7 separate regions of the Homo sapiens genome follow, and regions 1, 2, 4, 5, 6 and 7 are each linked to region 3. Evidence: promoter capture Hi-C in 16 types of primary human blood cells and fetal thymus (Javierre and others, 2016). All regions are on one chromosome and are shown on one strand. The core of a region is centred on a gene start or on the middle of the fragment in contact, and the rest is flanking DNA. Distances in the headings are between cores, read along the strand shown. Region 1 holds the start of CHD4 (chromodomain helicase DNA binding protein 4). Region 2 holds the start of CD4 (CD4 molecule). Region 3 holds the start of C1RL-AS1 (C1RL antisense RNA 1). Region 4 has its middle 4.2 kb from the start of PTMS. Region 5 holds the start of ING4 (inhibitor of growth family member 4). Region 6 holds the start of COPS7A (COP9 signalosome subunit 7A). Region 7 holds the start of ZNF384 (zinc finger protein 384).

Evidence for each region. Contacts are between HindIII fragments. The CHiCAGO score rates a contact against its expected background, and 5 or more counts as called.
Region 1: a contact is called between the fragment with the promoter of CHD4 here and the fragment with the promoter of C1RL-AS1 in region 3, in 5 of 17 cell types (naive CD4 T cells, activated CD4 T cells, total CD4 T cells and 2 more). The highest score is 12.8, in naive CD4 T cells.
Region 2: a contact is called between the fragment with the promoter of CD4 here and the fragment with the promoter of C1RL-AS1 in region 3, in 10 of 17 cell types (activated CD4 T cells, non-activated CD4 T cells, naive CD4 T cells and 7 more). The highest score is 14.1, in activated CD4 T cells.
Region 4: a fragment that was not itself captured here is called in contact with the fragment with the promoter of C1RL-AS1 in region 3 in 2 of 17 cell types (naive B cells and activated CD4 T cells); the score reaches 6.0 in naive B cells.
Region 5: a contact is called between the fragment with the promoter of ING4 here and the fragment with the promoter of C1RL-AS1 in region 3, in 8 of 17 cell types (non-activated CD4 T cells, naive CD4 T cells, activated CD4 T cells and 5 more). The highest score is 11.8, in non-activated CD4 T cells.
Region 6: the fragment with the promoter of COPS7A here is called in contact with the fragment with the promoter of C1RL-AS1 in region 3 in 14 of 17 cell types (non-activated CD4 T cells, naive CD4 T cells, activated CD4 T cells and 11 more); the score reaches 18.8 in non-activated CD4 T cells.
Region 7: the fragment with the promoter of ZNF384 here is called in contact with the fragment with the promoter of C1RL-AS1 in region 3 in 5 of 17 cell types (non-activated CD4 T cells, naive CD4 T cells, activated CD4 T cells and 2 more); the score reaches 10.3 in non-activated CD4 T cells.

The regions. Positions count from the first base shown.
Region 1 is chr12:6,606,122-6,609,804 of GRCh38, reverse strand. CHD4 (chromodomain helicase DNA binding protein 4) reads left to right here and starts at 2,426. Exons shown (of 40, transcript NM_001273.5): 1 at 2,426-2,505; 2 at 3,354-3,531. The coding sequence starts at 3,432. It overlaps LOC124902867 (a long non-coding RNA gene), which reads right to left. Exons shown (of 2, transcript XR_007063193.1): 2 at 495-690. RefSeq lists an enhancer at 1,806-1,955 and silencers at 2,546-2,645, 3,056-3,115, 3,296-3,345. The HindIII fragment of the contact is 30,599 bases long and covers 1-3,683 here.
Region 2 is chr12:6,787,907-6,791,394 of GRCh38, reverse strand. CD4 (CD4 molecule) reads right to left here and starts at 1,867. Exons shown (of 10, transcript NM_000616.5): 1 at 1,733-1,867. RefSeq lists enhancers at 1,961-2,010, 1,826-2,383. The HindIII fragment of the contact is 6,468 bases long and covers 1-3,488 here.
Region 3 is chr12:7,106,507-7,110,018 of GRCh38, reverse strand. It overlaps C1RL-AS1 (C1RL antisense RNA 1), which reads right to left and starts at 1,711. Exons shown (of 12, transcript NR_026947.1): 1 at 1,538-1,711; 2 at 1,072-1,346. It overlaps C1RL (complement C1r subcomponent like), which reads left to right and starts at 805. Exons shown (of 6, transcript NM_016546.4): 1 at 805-909; 2 at 1,540-1,768. The coding sequence starts at 839. RefSeq lists enhancers at 864-943, 1,584-1,753, 586-1,785. The HindIII fragment of the contact is 2,026 bases long and covers 248-2,273 here.
Region 4 is chr12:6,760,375-6,763,974 of GRCh38, reverse strand. No RefSeq gene overlaps it. Among named protein-coding and RNA genes, the nearest start is that of PTMS, 4.2 kb to the left of the region's middle. The HindIII fragment of the contact is 5,304 bases long and covers 1-3,600 here.
Region 5 is chr12:6,661,664-6,665,197 of GRCh38, reverse strand. It overlaps ING4 (inhibitor of growth family member 4), which reads left to right and starts at 2,079. Exons shown (of 8, transcript NM_016162.4): 1 at 2,079-2,133. The coding sequence starts at 2,097. RefSeq lists an enhancer at 2,049-2,108. The HindIII fragment of the contact is 5,227 bases long and covers 1-2,965 here.
Region 6 is chr12:6,722,505-6,725,763 of GRCh38, reverse strand. It overlaps COPS7A (COP9 signalosome subunit 7A), which reads right to left and starts at 1,718. Exons shown (of 8, transcript NM_001164094.2): 1 at 1,585-1,718; 2 at 946-1,150. The coding sequence starts at 1,107. RefSeq lists enhancers at 1,064-1,283, 1,414-1,553, 1,584-1,793. The HindIII fragment of the contact is 1,412 bases long and covers 1,621-3,032 here.
Region 7 is chr12:6,688,092-6,691,474 of GRCh38, reverse strand. It overlaps ZNF384 (zinc finger protein 384), which reads left to right and starts at 2,100. Exons shown (of 12, transcript NM_001385745.1): 1 at 2,100-2,377; 2 at 3,249-3,308. RefSeq lists silencers at 1,982-2,061, 2,142-2,251 and an enhancer at 1,622-2,248. The HindIII fragment of the contact is 17,984 bases long and covers 1-3,383 here.

The DNA.
Region 1 (3,683 bases), core at 1,177-3,676, 500 kb after region 3:
ACCTTGTGATCCACCTGCCTTGGCCTCCCAAAGTGCTGGGATTACAGGCATGAGCCACCATGCCCCGCTGGAATATTGACTTCTATACAGGCAGGGGAAGATGGGGAACATTATACAACTAAAGATTTTTTTTTTTTTGAGGTGGAGAATGTGGCCCCAACAAGATGAGGATGGAGGCCATTGGAGATACTATGAGACTTCAGGATATAAAATGGGAAAGTGCCTGAAAAATATGGGACATTGAGGATAAGCAGGATTTGGTGTTCAAGAATGAGGGAAACAATGCTGGTATATTGTGGAGTCTCTTAAGAAGGAAGGACATGAACATATTATAGGATTTCAGTATTAGGAATGCTGGATGGATGAACATTGCTTTCCAAGAAAAATCCCCTAGTAAGTAGGGAACAGATAGGAGATCATGTTGACTATGGTCTATACCCATAAATCCTTTAAGTATCATCTTCCAGCCTCTAGAAGGACCACGATAAATCTTATTGGGATATGTTCTCTCTTGGAACCAGTGGGATTTTATTTTCTGTAACAGGAAATTGGGAAACAGTGCTCAGCAGTTCTCCCTTGGCACCATTCTGTCGTGTATCATAGTTTGCTTGGTTGCTTATGCTTTTTGAAGGGAGGCCCCCTGGTCTTCCTTGATTCTCCATGGTGCGGAGCTCGGCCTTGCTAGGTACTCTGTCAACACAGGTTGAATGAACATGAGTAGTGGTGAGTAGCGGGAGGGCAGGCCTTCACTCTTGGTGTGTATAGAGCAGGAACCTGAGTTCACATCGTGATGGGATGTCCATCCCCAGGAATGGCCTGGGGGTGTTGGTGAAAGATCCCTGACCTGGGGATGTGGTGAGGGGGAGGATTGCTAGAATGTTGAGAGATAGTCTTTGGATGGGAGTTGGTAATTATTATGGGATGCTGTAGGGTGAATTAGACTTCATGTAAATGTTTCATCTGTCAGCTTGGTATTTTGGTTGGTTGGTGTTCCTCAAAACTTAGGAGCTGGAGGTAAGCATCTGGAAAATACCTAGATTTTGGTGGGACTGGGTGGGGCCCTAGGTGGGCTCCCAGCCCCCGAGTGTCTGGAAATGATGGTATGAGGGAAGCTGGGGTCCCAGACATCAGGAGGCTTTTTGCCAGGATACTACTTTGGCCCAGAAAGGGATTAAGGTGTGTGCAAGTGGGGGCGGGGACAAGGAAGCGTGGGTAGCCTGCCTGGCCCTCCCTGCTCTGGGTGTTAGAATAGACTGACAGCGCCTGGAGATGGGGGTGGGAAGAATATGAATATTATGGGATGCCTGGCTCGAAGGGTATAGGGGTGGTAGAGTGGAGATGAAGCATTATGGGATGTGACACTGGGTTGTGTTGGGAGTATTATGGTATGTTTGGTTGACCACGGGCTCCTTGCAATTATTATGGGATGTCAGGATGTGGGTAGGAGAGTAAAATTATTATGGGATAGCTTTCCAGTGTTAGAGGAAAAGAGATTAGATGTCCATCTGTGGGGCGACAGTAGGGCTGTTGATCATTATGGGTTATCTTTTTGATAGAGGAGGGGTACTTACTATAGGCTGTGGAGCTAGAAGAGGGAAGGCTGGGGGTGATGTGAGCCTCTAGACCCTGGCCTGCAGGGACTGAGGGCAGCTCTAGGGGGTTAGTTATTATGGGATGTCAGTATAGAAAGTGGGAGACTGATTATTACGGGATGTGTGTGGGAGGAGGCCGAGTGTCCGTTGTTGTAGTATGGGGGGGGGTGAGTTTCTGACTATTATGGGATATCAAACTGGGGGTGGATGAAGGATGGTTATTATGGGATGTCTGTGGGGGATGGGGCTGAATATTATGGGATATGAGGCATAAGTGCTGCGAGGGGTGCTTATTATGGGATGGCCATGGGGAGGGAGGGGTGATGAATTATTATGGGATGTTAGCATTAGGTCCAAGAGTGAAGAAGAAGTTGGCAAAGGATGTCTATTATGGGATGTCTAAGAGGGTTAGTTGCAAAAGGTCTGCAATATTTTGAGATGTCAGCAGTCTCTGGCATATGTGTATGAAATGTGGGGGGGCAGGGTGTGTGTGTGTTGTGTGTGTGTGTGTGTGTGTGTGTGTGTGTGTGTGTGTGTGTGTTGGGGGGGGGGGTGTCCGTGTGTATTATGGGATGGCCAGGAGGTGGGCGGTTGCCCAGGTGACGCGCGCGCGCCCGCTGCGAAGGGGGCGTGGCCAGTGGTTGCCTGAGCGACGAGGGGGCGGGGGTTGCCCGGGAGACCTGGGGAGGAGGGTGGCGGTAGTGGAAGGGGGGGGTTGGAGTTGGTTGAGGTTATTATGGGCTGTCCGTGGGGGGGCGGGGCCTGTGCGGTGGGATTTCCCGGCCGGTGTTTCAGGCCCTTTAAGAGGCGACGCTGGAGCCGGAGCCATTTTCCCCCCTTCGGCCGCGGCGAGGAGGAGCCGGAGCGGGAGTGACACCGAGCCGGACCCAGCGCGACCTGCGGCGGCTCCGGGGTGAGGAGAGCGCGGGGTTCCCAAAGAGACGCCCCTCACGGCCCTACCAGCCCCGAGGGTCATCCCGTCACCCGCCCCTTCCTCAGGCGTCTCCGGACCCGCGGACCGCCCCTTGCCCAGAGGAGCCGACCCTTCCTTTCCTGGCCCTGCAGGGCGCCCGGCCTCCTCCCCAGCCCCCGCCCTAACCCTGCCGGAGTCTTGCTCCCCGCGACCCCCCGCCTCCGGCTTGGTCTCCCACAATGCCCGGCGCCCACCCCCTCGCCCTTTGATCACTTGCCCCCCGGGACACGTGGCCCGGCCCCCTTCCCGGTGGGACGCTTTCGCCCCCCGCGTCCCTGCCTCCGGCCCCCCGCAGCGCCCGAGCCTCCACGCCCCCTCGTCCCCGCAGCTCTTGAGGAGAACCTGAGTTGTCCCAGAGGACAGCCTTTGGAGAGCTGCCCTGTCTGGGGACTGGCCCCTCCCCGGGCGCAGGGAGGCGCCCCCCCACCCCCAAGTGACCTTGTGTCCCCGAGCGCCTCGCCGCCTGCGGCCTCCCCTGGCCCCCCCGCGCCGCTGCCACTCGGACCCCCTCCCCCGTCACACCCCGCTCGGTCCAGCCCCGCGTCTCCCCTCCCCGCGCTTGCACCAGCCTGCCCTCGGAGGCGTCGCTCCCTCGCTCCGTGGGGGCGCCTGCCGGGGAGCCGGCTTCCGGGCTGCCCCCGAGGAGTGTGGAACTAAGTTCAGCCTGAGCGGTTCGGGTGCCCTGCTAGGGTGGCTGGGGTGGGGGGCGGAAAGAGCGGGTGGGTGTGGGGGAGGGGGACAGTGCGCGTCACTGACTGTTCTGTGTTTCTCCCCCCTCCCCCGCACAGTGACTCGGGCCAGTGTAGAGGTCCTCAGGCCGCCGGCAGGAGCAGCTGGGCCAATTCCCTGGCCGGGAGCGGAAGGGGATGGCGTCGGGCCTGGGCTCCCCGTCCCCCTGCTCGGCGGGCAGTGAGGAGGAGGATATGGATGCACTTTTGAACAACAGCCTGCCCCCACCCCACCCAGGTAACATCTTCCCCAAGGGCCCATGGCGGGAAGGAGACATCTGGGGCTCTCCCGAGTGACTCCTCTGGTGAGGCAGGGCTGTGTTGCTCCGCTGTCTCTGTGCAGAGCCGGAGGTGGAGGGTATCCGAAGGGAGTGGTTCCCTTCTGCGGAG
Region 2 (3,488 bases), core at 618-3,117, 320 kb after region 3:
GTTGGGCTCCTGTAATCCCAGCTACTCAAGAGGCTGAGGCAGGAGAATCGCTTGAACCCAGGAGGTGGAGGCTGCAGTGAGTGGAGATCACGTCATTGCACTCCAGCCTGGGCAAGAGAGCGAGACTCCGTCTCAAAAATAATAATAAAAAATAAAACGTGCAAGACAATTGGTCTAGCCAATTGCCCTCAGCACCACCCCGCCATTACGGCCAGGGTCAGAGCCTAGGGCTGCCCCCAAGCTCTGTCTAGCACCAGTGGTGGGAGGAGTTTTTATCTAGATATAGACCTCTCCTATGTAAGTGCTCCCACATTGAAAGAGGGAAATCATCTCCCGAGTGTCTCTAACGCTGTCCTCAGGGGCTCTTTCATCTGACTTTGAGGGCGGCGGCCATTTTGTATCAGCCTACAGCATCTGATACAGCACAAGGAATTATTGGTCAAAATGTGAAGTAGCAGTGACTTCCCCCATCAGGCCCTGCTCTTAGCCTTGCCCCGATAAAAATGTCCACCACAAGAGCAGGGCATTCAGGAAGCACTATCCCACTCAGAGTGAAATCTTTGAATTATTGAGAACAGGGCCTTTCCGTTTTGAGGGATCAGAACGTACCCCAGGAAACCTCTCTCCCAGAAGAAGCCTATGAGGGGAAAGCAGAGGACACTGGGGATAGCACGGCTTCAAGGCCATGAGGTCTCAGGGGCTGGAAAGGTCTGAGGGCGGAAAGGCTGAGATGGCACAGGGCTTCCCTTCAGGAGGGACAGTGAGTCCTCACTCTCCCTCACACCCTGCCAGGCCCAGGAGGGGCTGCACATCCTTCTGTAACTCTCCCGGCCTCATGAGACCCCTACCACCAATTCTTTTCGAATCCGTTTCTTAAATGACATATTTATCTAAAGATATGTATCTGCAACTTTTAGGGCAATTCATACGCAAAAGCTCAGTTTCAACACTTTCTGAGAATTTTAGCTTTCCTATTTCATGAATCATTTTAAAGCTAACTAGAGTAGAAGTGCCTTTAGACATTGTTCAAAAATCTTAAAAGAGCAAAGAAGCAGACAAAAATTTAAAAATACACACAGAAACACAAAAGGTAGTTAAAAGAGACTATTACATAGATCATGCGACTTATGAAATGCTGCAAGTATGATATTTGGTGTCAATTTTTGGAGATTGTCCCGTTAAGGAAAATTGGTTTTGCAAGAATTTTCTCTAGACTAGATTCCACTTCTTTTGCTCTTTTTCTTGTTTTTATGTTTTTCCTCATCATTTCTTTTTTATAGGTTTCCTCCCACCTTATATTTATTTATTCTTTCTAATTTTTTCCCTCCCCTTCTTCACTCTTTTTCTCCTCTTTTCCCCTCTTCCAGTCTTCTCCCCTCAACTGCCCACGACTAGTTGCCTTCCACGCCTTTCCCAGCCTGGGATAGTCTCCAGTCTTCACTCCCTCTCTGATCTTGCTATTTAGGTCACTACTCCTCTAAGGAGCACCCATTGCTCTGGACACTGAGCTGTGCACGCTGGGGCTGCAGAGAGGAGTCTAGCACAGTCTCTGACCTCTGGAAGCTCACAGTTCCAGTGGGAAATCGCTGCTCATGACCAGTTCCAAGAGAAATGCAAGAGAAGGTGGCCAGAGCTGTGGGCAGACAACTGGGCAGAGCACATTCCTGTGCATCTGCCCCACGTTCCCCTCCCTCTCAGCTCCGGGGAAGGAAGCCGAGTCTGACCACCTTACCTCTGGGCTTGCGTCTTTCTTGCCCGCTGCTTCTCAAACAGGCGTATCTGTGTGAGGACTTGGAGCTCTGCAACCAGGAGCCCAGTGGGGAGGGTGCTTTGTTCCTTCTGCAGAGTCGTGCTTAAATGAAGAGAGACAGGAAGCCCGATGGCAAGGCTCCTCCACACCCTAGGCCTGGGCCGGCCCCAAACGTCACCAGCTGGAGCTGGGTTCCCCACCCCCCAGGCTCTCAGGGAACATGTCAAAGTGAAAATGCCAAAGTCAAGGGAAAAAGTTAAGCAGAATCAGGCTTAAATCAGGAGTCAAACTGTCACTGCCACTGTTAAGCGGCAAGAAAAAGATGGCAAGAAAGATTCCATTAGTGGTAGCGCCATGTCTGACCAGGCTGTGGGGAAAGAAGTGGGAGGCAGTTGGGGGCATATGGGAACAGCAGTGGTAAGCCCACAAACAGCTCCTTGCTCTGGGGCCCTGAGGGCATGTGTCCAGTGGGTGCCCCAGGGGTATCTGTGGAGGCTTTATAGGTGGCCCAGTGTGGAAGAGAGGGCGTGGGCTGAGCAGAGAATATCTGAGACACCAGGAGTGACTGTTAACCAGGCTCTGTTCCTCTAGGCGTCTCTGGCCAGGCCTCAGGTGCTTTCCTCTAGCCCGAATCTACCATGAACTCTCTATGTGAGTATCCGTCTGCCCATTGGACATCTCCACTGGGAAGCTCACCGGACATAGCAAACTCAACACACATCCCCAACTATGCATACCACCTGCATACTACCACCCTCCAAACCTGCTTCTCCAGGCTTCTCACTCAGTGAGGGGCTCACCATCCACCAACTTGCCCAAGCAAAATAAATTGGGTGTAATCTTTGACACCCCCTTCACCCAACTTCTCCCACGTATTTATTTACCAGTTCCTGTGGATGTTACCTTCTAAATGGCTCCAAAATCTACCCAAGTCACTCTGCACTACCACTACTGCCACCATGCCAATCCAAGATGCCAATATCATCCCTTGCTCGGACAACAGCTCCTGCCTCCTCACTGGTCGCCATTCTCCATACCACAGCCCAAGTGATCATTTAAAGATGCACATGTGAGTGTGCGTTTTCCAGTCTGAAAAAAGTGGGGCTGGGAGTGGTGGCTCATGCCTATAATCCCAGCATTTTAGGAGGCCGAGGTGGGGGGATCGCTTGAGCCCAGGAAGTTGAGGCTGCAGTGAACCGTGATTGCACCACTGCACTCTAGCCTGAGTGACAGAGTGAGAACCTGTCTTGAAAAGAAGAAAAGAAAAGAAAAGAAAAGAAAACTCTAGTTCAGCTTGCGACTCCAACAATTAACACAAGTACCCCTATTTGACAGCATTGTACTTCATCTGTAGCATATAGTACTGTGTGCTACTTCTCATTTCATGACACACCGTACTCAAGGGTTGAGATTTAATAAAATTAGTATTTACTGCTTCATTAAAGGCATTCTATATATATATATATATATATTTTTTTTTTTTTTTTTTTTTGAGAGGGAGTCTCACTCTGTTGCCCAGGCTAGAGTGCAGTGGCGTGATCTTGGCTCACTGCAACCTCTGCCTCCCGGGTTCAAGCAATTCTCCTGCCTCAGCCTCCCAAGTAGCTGGGGCTACAGGCATGCGCCACAATGCCCAGCTAATTTTTGTATCTTTAGTAGAGATGGGGTTTCACCATGTTGCCCAGGATGGTCTTGATCTCTCTTTTTTTTTTTTTTTTTTTTGAGACAGAGTCTTGCT
Region 3 (3,512 bases), core at 462-2,961:
CTTGCCTCCATATTACTATATGCAAAATGGGGGAAGCAATAGATTCTTCTCTGAGAGGTGTGTGTGCGCGCGCACATGCATTTGTGTGTGCATACAACGTAAGGCCTTCCACACACCTGCCTTCTCTGAGGATGGGACCACCCATCTCCATAAGAGCCTTCTGGCCTCCTACCAAGCTGTGGGTGAGTGTCCTTCCTCGGGGAGCGGTGAGAGCAGGCAGGGGCTCTAGTATCTGCCTAAAGAAGCTTGAGTGACGGCTTGAGTGATGACTGGGACTAGGGACTGAGGGACACCTGGGCTCGACCCCAGCCCTGACCATGCTGGACAAGCAGCCTCCAGAGGTTGTGAATAGGATTCAAAAGACCACCTAAGCGCATGTCCCCCACCCCTGCTTGGGGAGGAGGGAAAGGAAGAGAAAGCTCAAGTTCAAGGATCACAAACTTCAATTCTACAAGAGGGAGGCTCCCCGGGTATGTCGTGAACGGAAAGGTCGGGGAGGAAGAGACATGGCTGATTGAAGGCAGCAGCCATAACTCACAAGGAGCCATCCTACACACATGGCAAAAATTAATGTTAAATAGTACAAAAGGGTCGAGTCAGTGCCCTGCCACCCTGACCTCTGAGGGCCAGCGAGGTTTTTGGACGTTTCTCCCCTAAGCTGCGGCGGGCCCGCTGTTCCTGAGTCAGACGGCAGGTGGCGCTCAGCCCGGAGAATTGGAGAAGGGGAACTGTGGAGTTGCTTAACATTTCCAGGAACTTCCTCCTCCCCCACCGGCCTTCACCTTTTGTTCCCTATCCTGGGCCAGTTCTCTCGCAGGTCCCAGATGTCCAGTTCCAGATGCCTGGACCCAGAGTGTGGGGGAAATATCTCTGGAGAAGCCCTCACTCCAAAGGCTGTCCAGGCGCAATGTGAGTGTGGCCCCGGCAGAGGAGGAGGGAAGAGGACGGGAGGGGAAGAGAAAGGGTGGGTGGCCGCAAACCCTCCCTCCCCCCACCCTACCCCCCCCACACACACATCCCCCCCCCCCCCACACACACACACACACACACACCTCCCCCACATACACACACCAGCAGCAGCAGCAGCAGCAGCACAGCAGATATTCCATGGGGAGACTGAAATTTGCCTGTGGCCTCTAGCACCTTCCCAGAGGGTGGTCGGGGGATATTTACGGCAGACCCTCACTCGCCCCACCATTGCTCCCTCGGATCCCAGGGTGGGGTGGGATCTGCTGAAGCAGAAAGCACCCCCCTCCTTTGGACGAGACTCTCCTGGGAGATGAGCAAAGGTGATGTCTTCGGAGGATGGAAAACCCACAATCCTAGAGCTCAGGCTGCGCGGGAGGCTGTAGGGATTGGGGTGAGGAAGGGGAGCAAGGGAGGAGACGGGAAGTGCCCGGGCCTCAAGGGTGAGGCCACAGCTTCTAGCCCTGCCTCGCGAGGCCTCTGAGTCCTAGCGCGGCTCCCCCGCTCCTCCCACACCCACAGGCTTCCGGCCATAGCTGCGCGGCCCCACCTTGCCCTCCCCCCAACTCACAGGTGGTGGCTGCTTCTCTGGGGAGTCCTCCAGGCTTGCCCAACCCGGGGCTCCGTCCTCTTGGCCCAAGAGCTACCCCAGCAGCTGACATCCCCCGGGTACCCAGAGCCGTATGGCAAAGGCCAAGAGAGCAGCACGGACATCAAGGCTCCAGAGGGCTTTGCTGTGAGGCTCGTCTTCCAGGACTTCGACCTGGAGCCGTCCCAGGACTGTGCAGGGGACTCTGTCACAGTGAGCTGGGGATGGGGGGGGTCCCGCCAGGACTGTGGCCAGGGAGATTCCCGGGGTTGTGGGAAGTGGCGGTGCCCTGAATCCCCCATCTGGAGGAGGGATGAATTTTCCATGTAGGGGCAGTCGGGCTTGGCTTACCGGGGAGCAGTGGTGGACCCCAGGACACAGCCTCCCACCAGCGCCTCCGGGGCTGCCATCTGGGCCCCACAGAGCAAAGAGGGCAGCAAGCAGGCCCTGCGTTTGGAAGGCTTATGAATGGACACACAAATCTTGCAAATCTATGGAGCCAGGGGCAGGGACGCACATATTGGTTGTTAAAAATATGTCATCATGTATTTGTTGAGTGCCTGCTCTATCAGGTGAGGAAGCTGGACACAAATAATAACAAAAGATTAAGTCACCGTTCACACTTACCTTGGAAGAGCTATTACAAAACTTCTAACGCCAAAGCCTTATTCAGAATAAGGACATTTTAAAAACAGTACTTGATGGAGTGATGCAAGCTTGCAGTCCCAGCAGTATAGTCAGGAGACTGAGGCTGGAGGATCAGAGGGCTGGAGCCCAGGGTTCAAGGCCAGCCTAAGCAACATAGCAAGACCCCATCTCAAAAATAAGTAAATAATAAATAAAAATAAAAAGAGCACATTATCTTTTGATTTAAATTTTATTTATATCAAAATGACATAAATTTTTGAACTTTATTTTTTAATTTTAAAATTTTTAATTATTATGGATACATAATAGTTGTAAGACTTTTTGTTTTTTAATTAAAGTTTTCTAAGGCTGGGCGCAGTAGCTCATGTCTGTAGTCCCAGCACTTTGGGAGGCTGAGGCGAAAGAAGCACTTGAGCCCAGGAATTTGAGACCAGCCTGGGCAACATAGCAAGACCCCATCTCTACAAAAAAATTTAAAAATTAGCCAAGTGTGGTGGCACGCACCTGTGGTCCCAGCTACAAGGGACGCTGAAGTGAGAGGATCACTTGAGCCTGGAAGGTAGAGGCTGCAGTGAGCTCTGATCATGACACCGTACTCCAGCCTGGGTGACAGAGTGAGACCCTGTCTCCAAAAAAAAAAAAAGGTTTTTAAAAAGGTTTATGAATAACAGCAGTCTCCAAGCTGTTCCTCCCCGCCCCTGAGTGCTGCTCCTCAGGAGCAGTCATTTGCCAATTCATGTAGCTGTTTCATCTGGTCTTTAACTTCATATGTATAAATAACATGCTTATTTGTCTTTCATTTTTACGTATTTTCTATTAATGCTCAACTACAGTATAGAAGATAAGGACTAGCTTTATCTGTCTTCAGTCTTCACCACCCACATTTCCCCTCCTCATTCTGCCAGTTTACCTATATTATCATTTTTAGTTAAATCTTTATTCATTATTTACATTATTATGACTGTAAAATATTCACATCTGAGCACATAGCATAAAATAATTATATTTCTTTTCTTCTCCAACTTTTGGGTTTCCTAGGAGTCAATAGTTACATGGAGTTTTTTTGTTTTGTTTTGTTTTGTTTTTTGGTGGGGGGTGTTTGTTTTTGTTTTGCTTTTTAGTTTGCTTAGTTGTCTCTGTAACTAATCTCACCAGACTCTTAACCAGGAGTGTAAATCTTCTTCTGAAATACTCAAGCATGAATTTCAGTCTATCGGTCCTCCTTTTAATTGGTGACATCCCTCCTGAAGATCTCTCGATTTATTTTCACAGCCTGAGTTCTTTGCTCTCTAAGCCGTCACACATTCTG
Region 4 (3,600 bases), core at 195-2,694, 350 kb after region 3:
CTAGGGTCCGAGGGACCCCAGGGAAAAGATCTAGAAAGCTGGAGGCCTGGATCGAATTCCTTTCCTGGTGGATGAAGCATCCTTTAGCCATCTCTCTCTGGTTGGACAACAAACCAGTCTTCTGAAGTCTTGGCTTCATGAGAAAGAAGCTGGAAGTGAGACTTGGGATGAATGTGGAGTGAGTGGGATCTGAAAGCCACCCGACAGTCCTAGGGGTTAGCCTCAGAGCCTCTGGGGCCAACGGTGCTAAATGGCCTGTGTTTGCTTTTCTCTGTGGAACTATTTCTGAGGCTTTGTGGAGGCTTGCCTATTCCTAGAATTACCTTACTCTACAGTCCAATTGAGAATTTCTCCCACTAGTTGAATGGGGGAAGCATGTGCTTCTTACACATTTTCTGAAAGCGGGAAAAAGGTGACCAGGTGAGAACAAGGAAGGTCTGAGCCCCCTGGAAACGATGACTTCTGGCCTGACATCCTAGAAATTTACCTTGATACCATGTGTGGGAAGTGTTCAATTCTAGTTATTTCCATCTCATTCTTGGTGAATTCTTCCCCCTCTCCAGCTTCCTGGATTTTTTCAGTGTGCCTATTTCTCCTGTTGGTTAAGGGGTAAGGAAGGCCTAGTTATCATTCAAGGCCTTGGAAGACAGAGACCTGAAAGTTGGGGGGGCTATCTCCACTCCTCGTTTTACTTTATCCCCATTCCATTCCCAGTGACCTCATTTTCTATCCCCCATTTACCCCATTTTCCTTTGCTTTTTTTATTTTCAATCTAAAACTTTTCAAAACGAAAGTCAGTGGAGAGTTGAGAGGAGATGGAGTCCTAGAGGAAGACCTAAATTAGCCTAACTTCGATCATGTTTTTTTATTATTGTTGTCTTGAGACAGAGTCTCACTCTGTCACCCAGGCTGCAGTGCAGTGGCACAATCTCCACTCACTACAACCTCTGCCTCCTGGGTTCAAGCAACTCTCATGCCTCAGCCTCCCAAGCAGCTGGGATTACAGGCATGTGCCACCACACCTGGATAATTTTGTATTTTCAGTAGAGACGGGGTTTCACTATGTTGGCCAAGCTGGTGTCGAACTCTTGACCTCAGGTGATCTGCCCACCTCGGCCTCCCAAAGTGCTGGGAGTACGGGCATGAGTCATCGCACCTGGCCGGATCATGATTGAGTGTGTTACCTCCATGGGTGTTAAAAATAAGGAGAGATGATCTTCCAGGCAACATTAAGGCACATCCATCATGCGTCCCGTCTCCGTGGGTACTCCTTTTCTGCAGTGCCTCCCTGATTCCTCCTGACTTTGCAGACCCGTATCCCTTTTTCCCATATGTTGTTCTCAACACCCAATCGCCTTCCTTGGTCTTCCACCCATACTAATGTCTCCTGTGGCATAGTATCTAACACCACACCAGGGACAAACAAGAAAGCTCAATAAACCATCTATTTCCTAGCCCAGTGGCACCATTTTGGACTCAATCTCACAGCTCTCTCAACCTTCTTCAAGGAAGCTGGGAAAACACACCATGCTGCCAGGATACTGGCTTCCCTCCGTCTGACTTGAGATCTTCCCAGTAACTACTGGGAAGATGTCCTGGTTGGAAGTCTCTTTTATGTTTTGAACATCACAACCAAAGTTTTTGTGGTTTTCCTACTTTTCTCCATGAAATTTCTCCCCAGTAAAAAAAGAATGGGTTTCACCTTTGTACCTCTCCTTCAGATTCTTTTTTTTTTTTTTTGGGACAGGGTCTCACTCTGTCACCCAGGCTGGAGCACAGTAGCACGATCTTAGCTCGCTGCAACCTCTGCCTCCAGGGGCTCAAGTGATCCTCCCACCTCAGCCTCAGTAGCTAGGACTGGAGACGCCCCACCACACCTGGCTAATTTTTTTATTTTTCATAGAGATCGGGTTTCACCATGTTGCTCAGACTGGTCTGGAACCCCTGGGCTCAAGCCATACACCCACCTCAGCCTCCATTATAGGCGTGAACCACCACGTGGGCCCTTCTTCAGAATCTTGATTGGCTTTTCTTATTCCCCCTGCCCTCCTTCGGGAATGCCTTTGCCTTTTTTTTTTTTTTTTCCGAGAGAGAGTCTTGCTCTATTCCCCAGGCTGGAGTGCAGTGGCGCAATCTCGGCTCACTGCAACCTCTGTCTCCCGGGTTCAAGTTCTCCTCCTGCCTCAGCCTCCTGAGTAGCTGGGATTACAGGCACCCGCCACTGCGCCCAGTTAATTTTTGTATTTTTAGTAGAGACAGGGTTTCACCATCTTGGCCCGGCTAGTCTAAAATTCCTGACCTCGTGATTCACCTGTGTTGGCCTCCCAAAGTGCTGGGATTACAGGTGTAAGCCACCGCACCCGGCCTCGCCTTTGCTTTTACACCTAGAATAGTTTGCTATTGCCTGACTCTCTCTGTCCTGCCTTCAATTTCTCCCCCACATTCACTCTTCAACATGTCTTCATGGGCCTTCAACAAAGTCCAGAAGGAAGGCAACATTTATGGGTGCCTTCCAGCTCTGTCCAACAAAACTTTCTGTGATGATGGAAATGTTCTTTATCTGCACTTTCCAACATAGTAGCCACTAGTCGTGTGGTTACTGAACACTTGAAAATGTGGCTAGCGCAACTGAGGAACTGAATTTTTTTACTTTTAATTAATTATTATTATTATTATTATTTTGTAGAGACAGAGTCTCACTCTGTCACCCAGGCTGGAGTGCTGGAATTCAGTGGCATGATCTCGGCTCACTGCAACCTCTGCCTCCCAAGTTCAAGCAATTCCCCTGCCTCAGCCTCCCAGGTAGCTGGGACTACAGGCACACGCCACCACACCTTGCTAATTTCTTTTGTATTTTAGTAGAGACGGGGTTTCACCATGTTGCCCAGGCTGGTCTCGAACTCCTGAGCTCAGGCAATCTGCCCACCTCGGCCTCCCAAAGTGCTAGGATTACAGGCATGAGCCACCGCGCACGGCCTTTTAATTAAACTTATTTATTTATTTATTTATTGAGACGGAGTCTCGCTCTATTGGCAGGCTGGAGTGCAGTGGCACGATCTCGGCTCATTGCAACCTCCATCTCCAGGATTCAAGCAATTATCCTGCCTCAGCCTCCCGAGTAGCTGGGACTACAGGTACGCGCCACCATGCCTGGCTAATTTTTGTATTTTTAGTAGAGATGAGGTTTCACCATGTTGGCCAGGAATGGTCTCGATCTCTTGACCTCGTGATCCGCCCACTTCGGCCTCCCAAAGTGCTGGGATTACAGGTGTGAGCCACCGCTACCGGCCATTAATTAAATTTAAATAGCCACATGTGGCTAGTGGCTATTTTCCCATATGGGATAGCAACACTTTAGACCTTGGCCCTAAACTGCCTCTTTTTCCACCTTTTCAACCTCCATCACCAGTAATCCTTAAGTAGAAAGTCAGGGAGCAACTCTGGCTGCTGTGTTTCAGGTCATCAGGGCCACTGTTGGCACATACTTTACCATAGGTGTGTGTTTGTTCAGAGTGTTCACATTTTCATAGATTAAACAGACTGTGTGGCTGATCCAGGGGACCAGTAAAAATGAAAAGGCAAGGGAAAATAGGACAAGGA
Region 5 (3,534 bases), core at 830-3,329, 450 kb after region 3:
CACATCCTGAGAACTCTGGGACTGCTGGCCAATAGTACTTGTTATGTAGTTGGGCTGGGATAAATAAAGCCCACTTAATTTAGTGCTAGATATCCTGTGTGGGCACCTAAGATGGTGTCTCAATATGTTGTGTAATACCAATGAATGTATCACATATGACCAAATATGCCAATGTTTCTTAGCTCCCTGCATATTTACTGCTTTTTCCTCCCACTCTCACCAACTCTTGAAAAGGCCCTAATGGCCCTAACTTCATCACCAGTATTAGAACTAGAATCTACTCTTTTTATGGATACACTCACACTCACTTATTCCAACAACCCTATGAGGGAGGTAGTAGTCTCATTGTATAGTAAAACAGGCACAGAGATCAAGTTACCGAAAAGCATGACTTTTGTAATTAGAGCAGTTTCCCGGATTCTATTGCTGTATCTTACTACCTGCACACTAGTAAACCTGGGGTTTACAGGCTACAGATCCTTTCAGCTCTGATACCCCCACCACTCTACAGCCCCTGAACCCCCTCCTCCAGCCTGCTCTTACTGTCCAGATAATGTTTCAAATACATCCCTGCATCCATCTCGAAGCAAAACAAAGCAACTTCCAATCCGCCCCGGGTTGGAAGTTCCTCTTCTCCACATATTTGGTAGAAATTATATAGCTGAAAGTCTGTCTCTTTAAAAACTTGCCGTAAGACATTGGTAATTCTTATGAAGGATGTGTGAGGGTACGAAAAGTGTGAGGGGTGGCAGCTATCTCTAAAATACTATCTTACTAACACCACTATTAGGTTATGGCCTTTGTGTTGGCAGTGTGTTGACAGCCTAGTGTGTTGGCAGCCTCTCATACCCTTGACTGCTTCCCATTCTGATGAAAACCATAGAAATCACTCTACCATAGCTGACTAGAGTGATGGCTAGCAACTAACTAGCCAACTAGCCCAGTAGTGATACTGCTGCATCCCTCAATCCCTTCAGAATTATGATGCTAACATCACATATAAACAAAAGGAAAACAAAAACACGAGATTTCCCCCTTAGAGAGTAGCAAGAGGGGCCAGGCACAGTGGTTCGCACCTGTAATCCCAGCACTTTGAGAGGCTGAGGTGGGCAGATCACCTGAGGTCGGAAGTTCGAGACCAGCCTCACCGACATGGAGAAACCCCATCTCTACTAAAAATACAAAATTAGTCTGGCGTGATGGTGCATACCTGTAATCCCAGCTACACGGGAGGCTGAGACAGAAGAATCACTTGAACCCGGGAGGTGGAGGTTGCGGTGAGCCATGATCACGCCATTGCACTCCAGCCTGGGCAATAAGAGTGAAAATTCTGTCTCAAAAAAAAAAAAAAAAAAGCAAGAGGGCAAGGCAGGAAGTAATATTTTATATGTGAAAGTGTATTCTAGTGTAACGTACAGGAGCTCTGACAAAAGATGTGCAGAATTATAGCTTTATTATGAGTCATTCTTTGTATTTATAAGTAGAAAGGTGATCATCTTTCTCAAGTTAAAAAAATAATGCTGGGGGAGATGGTGTTTGTGTGAGTGAATAGAAATTCAGACGGTTTAAATGTCTCAAGGCCTGATACTCTTCCCCAACTTCCTTAAGAAACTAACTGGCTTGAAAAAAGTCATTCTGCAAAAGAGGGAAAAAAAGTTGGATCTTCCAGTTGCTGAGAAGGTATGTTTACGCAATATGAGCCTAAAGTGAACAGTTACCCCTGCACGGATTACCATACATTCCCGTTTTGGAGGGAAAAAAGTTTGCTAGAGAATGCAAAATGGCGACCTCCAGTGACGTCATACCTGTCTCGGTCGCGTCCTGGGGTGTCTGTAAGGGCGGAAGCGGGCTACAGCCGCCTCACTGTGGGCGGTCGTGGCTACCATGCAAAAGGAAAAGTTTCAGTGTCGGGCGGATGTGTACCGGCGGTAATATAGTAAGGGCGGAAGTTCTCCTTTAAGGGCGGAAGTTCTCCTTTTAAGGGCGGAAGTTCTCCTTTTAAGGGCGGAAAGGCTTTAGCCGCAAAATGGCTTCGGCCCCTGTCGCGTTACAGTCACTTCCGGGGCGGATCGGAAGTTGCTTTGTTTTGCTTCGAGATGGCTGCGGGGATGTATTTGGAACATTATCTGGACAGTAAGAGCAGGCTGGAGGTGGGGGTCGGGGCTGCAGAGTGGTGCGGGGATCAGGGATGAGAGGATCTGTAGCCCTTAAGTTCCAGTGACGAGAAGGTCACAATTATGAAGCGGTTCTGTGGCAGGAAATATTGGAGGGTGCGGAGAAAGAGGGGGCGGGGCAGCAGGATCGAGGCCCCGCTGATGGGTGTAGACGAGGGAGGGGTGCGGTGTGGGGGTTAGAGACGTGTCTTGAAGGGCTAGTGTGCATGGCCAGGAAGATAGTTGCTGCCCCCATTCTCCAGGGTCTCCAGCCTCGGTAGATTTTTTTCCCCATAGTCGTTCAGAATCGTTATCACACACTGCCATTTGGAGAAGCGGTAAAGACCTCTCCTCCACTCCATTCTTCCTCAAAAGTGGCTTCTCATGGGGTTGAGAGTGGTGGTGATGAGTGACCACTGTCAGATGATGAACTAGAACGCTTCTCTTCATGGAGTAAAGATCTAATTCCCATCAAATGAAAATCTGGTGTTTATGCGATTTATGTAAACCACCCCTGCAGAAAGCCTATTGCTCTGTGCGCTTACATTTGTTTTAGGGCCCGGAGTCATTTATTCAACAAATATTTATTGAGGTCCTGCTATGGGTCAGACATAATGGCAGGCACTAGGGATAGAAAAATGAGTAAGACAAGGCTCCTGCCCTCAAGAAGCTCACGATCTAGTAGGAAACAGATTCTGCAAATAATTATAAAACACTGTGACAAGTGAGATAATGGAAATACATTAAAAAGGACACTTGGTAGGCAACCCTGGAGAAAAGGGGGGTAATTACCTGGGGATGTAGGAAAAGCTTTACAGCGGAGGTGATGTTTGAATAGGGTCTTGAAGGTTATTTGCCAGTGAGGAGAGAAAAAAGGAATTCCAGGTTGGGGAAAGCATCCGCAAAGGTACTGTGATGGGTTTGTGGCAAGGTCAAGGGTGTTTGATATTTATGACTCAGAGGTCAGCGTATTTGATATTTATGAATCTAAGGTAAGAAATTGAGAAAGGAGACTGGAGAAAGAGGCTGAGGCTAGATTGGACAAGGTCTTTTAAGCCAAACGAAGAAGTTTGCATTTTAAAGTAGAGTATGATTTTTATAGAGGAAAATGACTAATATATGGTAAATTGGAGCATGATATTGTTGATAACAGAGATCAATTAGTGATAACATTCCAGGACAGAGATAAGAACCTGATTTTAGGGAGTTACAGAAGTATTTAGGAGTTAAATATGAAAGGACTGACTGAATGACTGAGTGGTTGAGAGAGAAGGAAGAATCTAAGGTGGCTTCTTCCTGCTTAGAAAGTGAGGTAGACAGGCTGGGCACAGTAGCTCATGCCTGTAATCTCAGCACTTTGGGAGGCCAAGGCGGGCAGATC
Region 6 (3,259 bases), core at 469-2,968, 380 kb after region 3:
ACATACCACTGTCAGCATGTCAGGACTCAGGCTGCCTCCTCTGATTGTAAATTAACTCTGCCACTTTTGTGTGAACGGTTCTCTCTGCTGTGTTCCTAGCAGTTTGCCATGTGTCTCTGGGAAAAAGACACGTTCTCCCTTAGCTAACTTGAATAGATTAGCATATGCTGCACATAGGGAAGAAAAGGGCATGCTAATTTAACATGTTCACTCTCCACTTGTACCAGACTTCACACTTTCCCATAATCTCACTTTATTCCCACAACAGAGAGGGGCAGTATTGTCTCCATTTTTAAAAGAGAAAGTTGGCTAGGTGCGGTGGCTCAAGCCTGTAATCCCAGCACCTTGGGAGGTCAAGGCGGGCGGATCACGAGGTCAGGAGATCGAGATCATCCTGGCTAACACAGTGAAATCCCATCTCTACTAAAAATACAAAAAAGTTAGCCGGGCATGGTGGCGGGCGCCTGTAGTCCCAGCTACTGAGGAGGCTGAGGCAGGAGAATGGCGTGAACCCAGGAGGCAGAGCTTGCACTCAGCTGAGATCACGCCACTGCACTCCAGCCTGGGTGACAGAGCAAGACTCCGTCTCAAAAAAAAAAAAAAAAAGAGAAAGCTGAAGCCCTAAAACAAAAGTGACCTGATCAAGGTGACATGAGAATTAACAGCTACTACACTGGTGGAGACCGGCTGGAAATCAGGTTTCCTATTCTGAATAGGATGCTCTTTTGCTTAAAATGAAAAATAGTGGGCTTTACAGATCCCTTATCTCCAAAGGAGAGCTGGTTTGCTTGTTCACTGGTTACTTCTGCAAGTTGGCATTTAATTATCACTGTTTTCTTGTTCAACTGAATGGTTATTGGATCACAAAATGAGCCCTGCCCACCCATTCTCAAATTCAAACCTTTGCCCACGCTTCTCTGAGGGCTATTCAAGCCAGCAACCCACCTCTCTAACATTGGGCATGTCCAGCAGTTCTCCAAACACGTAGACACCAGGGGCCTCCAGCACCTGATGGATGAGTGTGGCCAGCGCTGCCCCCTTGGCCGACTTGGCTAGGAGCAGAAATTGCTCCTGGTTCTGCCCTGTCACCTTCACTTCCGCACTCATCACTGCACTGAGTGTGGGGGACTTGGGCTCAGGATGTCCAGAGCTGCAAGGAAAGAGGATGTGAAGCTAGAGGTCCCCGATGGCTGGTCGGATGGGAAGCACAAGGCTGAGGGACTGGATTGTAAAGGCACTAAGTCGGTTCTGCGGTGAGGAATCAGACATGGAGCGGTCTAAAATTCTGATCTAGGAATCCTAAAGTCAGCCACTTCGCAAGGCTGCCACACCCACCCCCTCCCCTGGGCCTAACCCCAAGCCCCATCACGTGCACCCCATTGAACCCCAAGACACAGGATGCAAAGGAGAAATGGGTGTCGCATGGTGTCCACCCTGACGACGCTCCCTCAGCTCTCCATTGCTGCCCCGCACGCGCCCACAACCACGTGACCTCACCCCCATTGAAGCTTACACGTGGCTCCGCCCCCTCCCTTAAAGACACCGCCCAGCGACCGTGGGCTCCCGCCGACTGCTTCGTCGTACCCTGGGTCAGGCTCTGCGGGCCGCTACCTGGAAGCTTCGACCTCCAGCGCACCGGGCGGGGCCGCCGCTCCGTCACCTCCGGCAGCTGTTCCAAGCCTTTCCTGCCACCTCCCTGAAGAGTCGCTCTGGCCACTAAACTCTATGGCGGGCTTCCGGCCGTACTTCCGCTCTAAGGACGCAAATTTCGGCAGGACATGCCCCACCCCCGCGTTCCGACCGCTGAAGCTCCAGTGAGGGACGCAGGCATTCTACTCTTCGATTGGTCGCTGGGGGAAGAATGACGGGCGCCTTTTTAAATGCTTTATTTCAATAAAACTTTATTAGTGGAAGAGCGCCAGCTATTAACTACAGACGTCTCTGGTGGGTCCCTGGTCCCGGCCCATTCTGTGTCTGTTCTAAGCCGCTGGAGAGCTGGAGATCAGGACTGCACTGGGTACCTGAGGCAAGAGAAAAGCTGTAACGGAAGGAGTGAAGAAGAGGGAAAAAAACGGGATGAGGAAACAAGGGGCAGAGAGGAAGCAAACAAAAATCAATAATAGAAGTTTAGCAGCAGAGATCACCTAGGTGGTTCAACCACTCACTTTTTTGAAGAGCAGGAGAAAAGAAGCGAGAAAAATAAAAGAGAGAATAAAGCTAACATGTATTGAGTGCTTACTATTGGTCAGACATCTTTTAAAATTTTATTCCGTTGAATCCTCACAAATATTCCCCTGTGACTTCAGGACACCCTCTACCATGATTACTACATATGTATTAATACTTGTAGAATGATGCTTTCAGTACATGGACTCTTAATTTCTTGGGGAGGAAAAAACCCTATGTGGTTCTCATTTTACAGAAAAGGAAATTGAGGCTCATAAAAATCCAAGGATTTATCTGGAGCTTTTCAAACTCAAAACCATCTTTCTACTTCAATATGATACTTTAATAAAAACAAAAACAACTAACATTTCTATAGTGTTTTATATTTCACAACAGGCTTGCAGAAGGTCAAGTGAGGGTAAAGTTAATGACATCTTGGCCTTTGTGTTAAGCCATGAGCATTACTTAATTCATCTGATACAACGATCTAGTAATTGTTATCTCCACTTTCCAGATGGAAAAACTGAACTCAGGAAAATTAAGAAACTTGTAAGTAATGGAAAGACAAGAAAGTGAAAAAGAGAAAGATAAAGAGAAATAGGACTCGTAGTCTGTTAGGGCTAAAGGAACTGCAGATGCAGTTTATGGTCCGCATATTTTGGTTTGTGATAGAAAATAAGCAGAAACACAGAAAGGAAAGAGAAAGGAGGAAGAGGAGAAGAAGAAATGAATGGAAAAGGTGAAACAAAAGTGAGTAGAAGGAATCAAAGGCATAATAAAATATTCAGAGTTTGAAGGAAGCAAGGAATTAATGAGTCCAAACATTATTATTATTATTTTGCATCCACCCCTCCCCGCCCCAAGCTTATCTTTTTTTTTTTTTTTTAATTTGAGACGGAGTCTCGCTCTGTCGCCCAGGCTGGAGTGCAGTGGCGCGATCTCGGCTCACTGCAAGCTTCGCCTCCCGGGTTCACGCCATTCTCTGGCCTCAGCCTCCCGAATAGCTGGGACTACAGGCGCCCGCCACTACGCCCGGCTAATTTTTGTATTTTTAGTAGAGACGGGGTTTCACCGTGTTAGCCAGGATGGTCTC
Region 7 (3,383 bases), core at 851-3,350, 420 kb after region 3:
GCTCACCACAACCTTCGCCTCCCAGGTTCAAGTGATTCTCCTGCCTCAACCTCCCAAGTAGCTGGGAAACTTCCTTCTTATAGCAAGGGCAGGAATAGGGCTGACGGAGACACGGAGACCCAGGAAGTGCCCAGTTAACATAAATAGGAAAAGAGCAGGAGGAGAACCAGAACGTATAGCTATTATTACTATTTCCTGTTCCCACCTTTCAATACCAGCCCCTGATGTCAAGGTTTCTTGAATCAGCAATCTCTAACCCACACAGCAATAGGTCTGGTCACATCTGAGCCCTTAAAATCCTTACTCTGCCAACTGTTGCTACTCAGTCAACAGAGACTGAGTGCTGAGCCCAAAAATGTGATAAAGGGAACAGACACTTTAAAAAAGATACAAACTACAATTACAATGAAATGCATCATCTATTTAAATATTTAAAGGCGTACTTTGTTACTTTCTTGCTTTGACCTTGGGGGAAAAAATCACTTAATCCTTTACAGGCTTATTTTCATTATCTGTAAAATGAGCATTATAATTATTTCTGTTAAAGTTATTTTTTGCTGGGCGTGGTGGCTCACGCCTGTAATCCCAGCACTTTGGGAGGCTGAGACAGGTGGATCAGTTGAGGTCAGGAGTTCGAGACCAGCCTGGCCAACATGGTGAAACCCCGACTCCACTAAAGATACAAAAAATTAGCCCGGTGTGGTGGCGGGCGACTGTCATCCCAGCTGCTAGGGAGGCTGAGGCAGGAGAATCGCTTGAACCCAGGAGGCAGAGGTTGCAGTGAGCCAAGATGGCGCCAATGCACTCCAGCCTGGGCAACAGGGTGACACTCTGTCTTTAAAAAAAAAAAAAAAAGGTTATTTTTCTCAGCAAGAGGCTCTTACCATTAGTAGGAGAGACCTCAGTTCTGCTTAGAGCTGAGCCCAGGGGGATTCTGGCCAGGTCGGGGTGCACGCTTGTAACAGCATTCACTTGTTCAAACAACATATTCAGCATTTACTATATGCTCAGCAAAGCAACGTATTTCCTTCCATGAGGAACTGACAATCTTGCTGGGGAATCACATGTATGAAATAGTTAAAATATCAATAAAAGGTACGTATTAAATACTATGGGAATTCAGAGGGACCATTACAGGTTGGAGCAATCAGGCAAGGCTTCCTAAAAGGGTTCATATTTAGGTGTTCATAATGAACTATAGTTCATTTATACAACAAGAGTTTACAGACCACTTAACTGCCAGGATATGAGGATACAGCAACGAACAATTCAGTCCTCGCTGTCCTGTAGCCAATATTTTAGTTGGGAGAGGTGGACAGCAAACAATAAATCAGGCAGTAATAAGTGCTATATTTAAGTAAAACAGGGTAAGGGGATAGAGATGTGGGTATGGGCAACAAGAAAAGACCAAAGTAAAGTAAGGGATGTGTCAGAGAGACAGATTTTGATGGCTGGGAGAGTTTCTAACTGGACCTAAGTAGGGACCTCCGAAAAACAAGGATACGTCCTAGTCCTTTCCCGCATATTCAAAGCATTGAGACATTCTTGGGGGTATCAGAAAAAATAATGGTAATTTCCTACATCAGCTTATTCAACATCCAGAGGGAAGAGAAACGGGGTCCCAGCATCTGAAGAACCCACACCTCCTCTCCTACCTTGATGGATAATTCATGAACCTGTCGCGTTTCCACCCCCCCACCTTCCCCAGATGTCCCTTCCGGAAGCTCAGGGCCGGAGTCCTCCGGTTTCAGCTTTTGCCCCTAGCGGAACCCGCCTTCACTTCCGCTATAGCGTCACATCCCCTCTTCCCAGTCGCTGGGCAGAAGCTATTTCCGCCCCGAGTTATCGTAACTTCTGCCCTGAATATCTCGCAGCGCTAGCGGCGCCGGAAGTGTTCCAGCCACTCCCGGAAGTGACTCGGCTTCTGCACGCCCCTCTTTCTCCATTAGCGCCCCCCCTACATTGCTATTTCCCTCCCTCCCCCCTTTTCGTTTCCGGCGCTCCCGCCTTCTCTCCGCAGAGCTCTTCTCTGAGCCTGTTGGGGGGAGGGAGGGGGGCGTGGAGGAACTGGGGTTCGCGGGAGCACGAGCTGCAGCACCACTTCCGGGTGAGTGCAAGGGGAGGGCAGCAAGGAGGGGGGGCCACCCACTACCTCGCGCCCCCGCCCTGCGGGTGTCTCGCGCGCGTTCCGTGCGTGTGAGTGTGTGGGTCTGTCTCGCTCCAGAAGTGCGTGCCCGCGCGCTGCGCCTTGCGCTTTTTCCCCTCCCTCGCCCCTTCCTGGTCCTCCCACCCTCCTCGGCTCCCTCCTTTCCCAGCAAACGCCGCCCCTCCCGCGCCCTGGCTCAGGCTCTGGCGCCGCCGCAGCCGTCGCCGCCCGGTGAGTCTCGCGCCGCTACAGCCGGCGCGCGCCAAGCTGCTTGCTCCTCCCCCCTCCCCTTTTCCTTGGGCAGGCGGGGAAGGGGGGGTCCACGATGTGACTGTGTGTGTGTCCGTCCCGGAACCGGAAGTGGTTGTGGAGGAGCGGGCGATGGGAAGGAATGGGGGGGTTTAGGGGGCGGGTGCCTGTCTGGTGGGTGGCAGAGTTCAGCTCCCTGGAGGGGAAGGAGGGACGTCCCAAGGAAGGGTCTTTGAGAAAGGGGTAGGGGACGACATCAGGAGAAGGCTCCCAGGAACTGTCTCAGGGGAGCGAAGGTTTTGAGGGGACAGCTGGGGTCTCCAGTAGATAGACCACGGTGCAGGCTGAGGGAGGTACTTCTTGGCACAAGGCCTCGGGTAGGCAGGGGGCGAAGTCCTCGAAGAAGTGGGGGGAAGGCTAGAGGAAGTGGCTGGGCCTGAACTGGCACTGTGCCTGCCACAAGGTCTTGTGCATCCCCCAGCCCTCAGCTTTGCCTTCTGAAGCCACTCCTCAGGGGCACAGACCCTCCTCCTCCTCCATCTCTAATGTTCTCTGACCCCTGGTTACCTGTGGCCTGGGAACGAACAAGGACCAGTCTCTGAGCCTAGGAGTGAAACCCAAACGCTGGTGATAGAATTCGTCTTAGTTTCTGGGAATTGGATTTATTTCTCTTGTATCCACGTAGAGGGTAGCACTAGACTGCTGTTATTATATCCACCCGTCTTTGGATTGCTGGCTGGGGGGTCTGCCTGCCTTCCAGACTGACTGCTGACAAATAATTCCTGAGGTTCTCCACAGTTCTCTGGTGGCTGCACCCTGCCTGGCCCCTGTAACCTAGACAATTTGTTTACAGAAAGTTCAGGAGCCCTGGAAAGGAGAAGGAATAAGACGGCAGGAGGAAGAGAGAGAGAGGGTAAGATGATTTTTGGGTTAATGGCTTTTCTGGTTTTGGGGGAGAAGGGGTCACAACCAAATGGGGCGTGTGTGT